Linked DNA regions of Homo sapiens: region 2 is linked to region 1. Evidence: promoter capture Hi-C in human tissues and cell types (Jung and others, 2019). All regions are on one chromosome and are shown on one strand. Each heading gives the region's core, a stretch centred on a gene start or on the middle of the fragment in contact. The rest is flanking DNA. Distances are from core to core; before and after follow the strand shown.

Evidence for each region. Contacts are between HindIII fragments. The study calls those that stand out against the background at their distance.
Region 2: a contact is called between a fragment that was not itself captured here and the fragment with the promoter of RHD in region 1, in 1 of the 25 tissues and cell types used here (dorsolateral prefrontal cortex).

The regions. Positions count from the first base shown.
Region 1 is chr1:25,271,090-25,273,839 of GRCh38, forward strand. It overlaps RHD (Rh blood group D antigen), which reads left to right and starts at 1,420. Exons shown (of 10, transcript NM_016124.6): 1 at 1,420-1,606. The coding sequence starts at 1,459. All of the region lies in intron 1 of LOC105376882 (a long non-coding RNA gene), which reads right to left. It also overlaps a transcript of RSRP1 not described here. The HindIII fragment of the contact is 5,221 bases long and covers 1-2,081 here.
Region 2 is chr1:25,785,124-25,788,185 of GRCh38, forward strand. No RefSeq gene overlaps it. Among named protein-coding and RNA genes, the nearest start is that of SELENON, 14 kb to the right of the region's middle. The HindIII fragment of the contact is 5,414 bases long and covers 1-3,062 here.

The DNA of each region.
Region 1 (2,750 bases), core at 170-2,669:
GCAAGTTTCATGTCCTGTAGTTTTCTTAACCAACCCCCTGCTAGTGGACATTTAGGTTAGTCTCAGTTTTTTCCTTCTGTAAATAAAGCTGCACTGAGCAAGAAGTGACTGATGCCAAGTGACTAGATGACCTTAGGTATGACCTCTCTGGGTCTTGGTTTCTTGGTCTAAAAACAAAATGACAGGATTCGACTGGGTGATTAAAATCTCCTCTGATCTACATAGGAATTGTTTTCAAGACATTTCTGCATTCCTCTAGTGACAGGGTGCTCACTACCTCATGAGTATTTCAGTGGACAACTGTAATGGTCAATAAAGTATCCACTTTCCACCTCCCTGCAGCTCCTGGCCCTGGCTTTATTCTCTGGGGCTCCACACATTCAGTTTACACTCAGTGGCCAGTGGCTGGGACCATTGTAGAAAATAAGGAAACTCCAATTCCTTCCTTCTTTTCTTCCTCTTTCATCTCTTCCTCCCTCTCTACATCCCTCTCTCTCTTCCTTCCTTCCTCGACACTTACCATGTACCAGACCTTCTGCCAGGCACATGGATGGGAGCACAGGGGAAGTTGGCTGCAGGGTTAGAACTAAGTCCCAAGCCCCCTAAAGCTCATGCCAGGGGACTGGACTGTCCAGTACTGAGGGATGGGGATGCTGAGGCTGGTGGCCTTCCTCAAATGCACTGTAGTGCCCCAGGCAGAGTCCTGGGCTGCCCTGTGAGGAGGTGACCAGAGGTAGAGCAACTTCACCCTAAGGCTGGATCAGGATCCCCTCCAGGTTTTTACTAGAGCCAAACCCACATCTCCTTTCTCTTCTGCCACCCCCCCTTAAAATGCTTAGAAACACATAGATTTAAATACAAATTCAAATGTAAGTAATTTCAACTGTGTAACTATGAGGAGTCAGTTCTACGTGGGTCCTATCTGTATCCTCCCCAGGGCTCAGCTCCATTCTTTGCTTTCATTCATTCTCATTCAATACATTGTTGTTAAGAGCTCACTGGGTGCCCTCTCTGTCATGTAGTAAGGTTTTAAAAAGAAAGCCTCTTCTGAGCTTCAGTTTCCTTATTCATAAAATAGGAGTATTGATCCATTCCTTGCTTTTCTTACAAGGATATGCTGAAGATGACTGAAGTACAGAGTAAAGAAGGATTATGTTTGGGTGTCAAAGGAATAGAATGCCCTCTTTCAAACTGAGCACAGCAGGAACCTGTAACAGGAACACAGCAACTTGTTGAATGAATGACAATATTGGAAAACATACATTTCCTCCCCTCCCCATCATAGTCCCTCTGCTTCCGTGTTAACTCCATAGAGAGGCCAGCACAACCAGCCTTGCAGCCTGAGATAAGGCCTTTGGCGGGTGTCTCCCCTATCGCTCCCTCAAGCCCTCAAGTAGGTGTTGGAGAGAGGGGTGATGCCTGGTGCTGGTGGAACCCCTGCACAGAGACGGACACAGGATGAGCTCTAAGTACCCGCGGTCTGTCCGGCGCTGCCTGCCCCTCTGGGCCCTAACACTGGAAGCAGCTCTCATTCTCCTCTTCTATTTTTTTACCCACTATGACGCTTCCTTAGAGGATCAAAAGGGGCTCGTGGCATCCTATCAAGGTGAGAGTTCATTGGAAAAGTGGTCACAGGAGCAAATAGCAGGGGCAGGGGCGGGGGAGGCCTGTGGTTCTCCAGGGGCACAGATGTTCCTTTCTACAAAATCCCAAGGAAAAAGATTCCCCCATCTTCTTCCGTAGATTGCACCGAAATTCAGCCAACAATGTAAGCTTTCCTTTAGAAGCAGCCTGGGCATGCCCTCTTCTGTGAAGCCTGCCTTGATTTTTCAGCACAGTGAGAGGCATCCTCTTTGGTGTTCCTCAAATTCCCTCTACCAAATGGTCTTCATAATTCTCTGCTTCTCTGCTTCCCCTTCTCTCTCCTCAGTGGCAAGGAATTTTTTTATTTTTATAGATTTAGGGGATACAAGTGCAGCTATCTTATGCAAGCAATTTCATGTTGTTGGGTTTTTGGTTTTTGTTTCCTTTTTGTGGCCTCTCGCTCATTTCTTATTTCTTTTTGAGGCAGGGTCTCACTCTGTTGCCCAGGCTGAAGTGCAGTGGCATGATCATGGTTCACTGCAGCCTTGACCTCCTAGTCTCAAGCAATCTTCCCACCTCAGCCTCCCAAGAAGCTGGGACCACAGGAGGGCACCACCATGCCTGGCTAATTTTTTTTTTTTTTTTTTTTGGTAGAGATGTGGGTCTCCCTGTGTTTCCCAGACTGGTCTCAAACTCCTGGACACAAGCGATCCTCCAGCCTCAGTCTCCCAAAGTGCTGGAATTACAGGCGTGAAGCACTGTGCCCAGCTCTCTTGCTCATATCTATACTAGTTTTCTTTTGGAAGCTTCAGCCTGTTGCTACCCCCCACCCCCACCCCCACCGACCCCAGCTTTCTTCTCACTTAGGGGCTGGGAAGTCTGCATGCTGTCTATAAATCCAGAACCAGAAGGTATGGCTGAAGGGGAGGGTAGGATGATGGTTATTTTATATTCAGCTAAAAATATTCCCAGACTGTGATGAGACAACTGTAAATAAGACAGATGTCCACAATGGTGTGACTTTGCTTTTTTAAAAATATTGAAATGAGTTTCAGGCATCTCAGTGGGCTGATAGGTTGTTGATAATAGACAGGGCCTCCTTGAAGAATGTCCCTGAGACAAAGTTGAAGCTTGAGCCTGGTTGAGTCCTTGCTTGTTCCTAGGTT
Region 2 (3,062 bases), core at 284-2,783, 510 kb after region 1:
TGATGCCCTCCCTGGGAGGGGGCCTGAAACACTGGGGCTGTTGTGCAGAGCAAGGAGCTCAGGTCCTAACACTGAAGTGACAGCTCTTCCTCCCCTGACCCTTTTTTTTTTTTGAGACCCAGAGTCTCGTTCAGTCGCCCAGGCTGGAGTGCAGTGGTGCAATCTTGGCTCACTGCAACCTCCACCTCCTGGGTTCAAGCAGTTCTCCTGCCTCAGCTTCCCCAGTAGCAGGGTGCGTCACCACACCCGGCTAATTTTTTGTATTTTTAGTAAAGACGAGGTTTTGCCATGTTGCCTAGGCTGGTCTTGAACTCCTGAGCTCAGGTGATCCGCCCACCTCAGCCTCCCAAAGTGCGGGGATTACAGGCATGAGCCACCACACCCAGTCCTTTCCTGGCACATTTGCAGCTTGTCAACACAGCGGAAATCACGGGAGAATGTTGAGCCCTTCCCTGGGCTCAGCTGCTTGCTCTGTTCATAAGCTTTAATAGCCCCCGGGGCTCTGGGCCAGGTGACCCGGCTTTAAATCCCTGCTGTGTGAACTTAGGCAGGTACCTCCCCTCTCTGGGCTCTTCTTTTCCATCAAGCAGACAGAAAACCTCAACCCCACAAGGTTGCTGTGAGAAGAAGTGGGAAGCTGCTGGTTCCCTGGGCACAGGAAGTGCTTGTTCCTTGTTCTGGAGACTCAAGACATTCCCAGAATCTTCTTAAGCAGAGCTGCTGGGGAGTAGCCCCTGTAGCAAGTACCATGCTCTTGACAGGCAGCATGAGAGCGTGACTCCCATGACCCACCTGTGCTCAAAAAAAAAAAAAAAAAAAAGCAAACCAGGAAAACTGACTACACAAACATTGTAGAAAGATTAGAAAATAGAAGCAGAAAGAAGACTCATTGGCCATCCCACTCTCTGGGGTGAATACTGTTATATTTTCTTCTAGGCCTTTTTCTATGAATATATAGAATATAGATTTTGCCACCGTGGTATCCTACTATGCACACTGTTTTCTTATAATCTGCTTTTGCACTTAACTGTACATTGTGAACCTCTTTCCATGTCAACAAATACATGTTTATCTCATCGCTGTACGTGCTTGTGGAGTATTCCATTGTGTGCTGTAGCCTACTTTGCTGATCTAAGCCCCTGTTGCCAGGCATTTGGGTTTGTGTCCATCTGGGATTTTAGTTACAAATCACAGAAACCAACTCTGTCAACTTAAGCACAGAAAGGGATTTACTGAAATGCCATGGGGTGGCTTATGGAATCTCAGGAAGGAGTAAACAGCCAAACCTCAATAAGGGCTAGAAAGAGGACTTGGCCAGGGACCCCTTCAAGAACCAGGGAAGCCTCTCTAGGCACCACCATCAGGAGGGCTGAATCCAAATGTTTCCAGATCCTGCTGTGGCTCCTTTCCATGTGGCCTGGCCTGGGTCACATGCCCGCCCCAGCCAAGGGCAGAGCCAGGCATCTTGGCTTGGCAGACCCCCTAAGATTACCCTGTGCAATGGGTGTTGGGCTGTTCCCTAGAGAAAAACATGAGATTCATCACCAAAATAAGGGATCTGCAGGCTGCACAGGCAAAAACAGCAGGACTGTTTACAGTTAGCTTTGATTTCTTCAGTATTATACAGAGAGTTATGAAGAGCATACTTAACCATCCTCCTTTTCACTTTTGTCCAATTATGTCCTCAGAATAACTTCTAGAATGTCTCTCTGTCTCAAAGCCACTTTGCAGTTCCCCAAGCCCCAGGCTCCCCCGCCAGGCCCGTGCGGCTGTCTACCTCTCCTCTCCTGTCCTCTGCTGTATTGCTGGGAGGAAATTGTAAAAATGAATATTTTAAAATGTATCCTCCAGGAGGGCCCTTGCAGGTGGAGAAATATCATCCTTTTGGCAACTTAACTCCATTCCACGGATAAAAATAAGTACGACTCAAGACAGGCCGAGAGGAGAGAGGAATTAAGGGATGACTCATCCTCACTGAAGGTAGGAGAGAGCTTTGCAAGCCACAGAATCTGAACACCCAAACCTCTCACTGAAGGTAGGAGAGAGCTTTGCAAGCCACAGAATCTGAACACCCAAACCTCTCCCTGAAGCAGCCCTCTCCTTCCCCAGCTGGGGGTCAGCCTGTGGCTGCCAAGCTCATTTTAAGCCTCATCTGCGCCCTCGCTGAGGATGGAAGCACCATTTGCACCTGCTTCCCTCATAGAAGGGTGTGATGTCAGCTCCTTCCCAGAAAGCTTCATCAACACCCAGCTCCTGGCACTGAGGTCTGCAGAGCCTCAAGGCCCCGGGAAGGGGGACGAGCAGGGCACAGTCCTTTTCTAGGTGCCTCCCTTTAAATGACTGGCTATTTGGTCAGACCAGCCAAATGCATTGGGAAGAAAAGCAAAAATGGAAAATCTGATTTAAAGGCAGCATCCAAGATGGATGCTCAGTTCCGTTCCCTCTGCTTTGAGGAGGTGACCCCACTGTGGTTTGAGAAAGTGCTAGAGATGAATGGGCCAGCTTCCCCCAGCGTTTCCCCTGGGGGCCTGTCCTTGGAAGTATGGTCATTGGTCATGTGGCACAAAGATGCTCGGCCCTCTGTGACTAATGCTTAATTACACCCTACTGGAGGAAGGGGGCTGATTCTATTTTTTGTATCTGAAAATATCAGTTTGGTTTCCTATATTTGGAGCACTGTTTTGTTCCTGCTCAGCCTGTCTCTTAAGTCAGAGCTTCTCAAACGTGCACAGGAATCACCTGGGAGCTTGTTAAAATCCAGGTTCATGTTCAGCGGCTCTGGCATGGAGCCTGAGATTCTGCCTTTTTTTTTTTTTTTCCTGACACAGGGTCTTATTCTGTCACCCAGGCTGGAGTTCAGTGGGGCCATCATAGCTCACTGCAACCTCCATCTGCAGGGCTCAAGCAGTCCTTCCACCTAGCCTCCTGAATAGCTGAAACTACAGGTGTGCCGCCACATCCAGCTAATTTTTTTTTTGTCGCTACATTTCTCAGGTTGGTCTCAGAATCCTGGGCTCAGGCTATCCTTCCGCCTCAGCTTTCCAAAGTGCTAGGATGGCAGG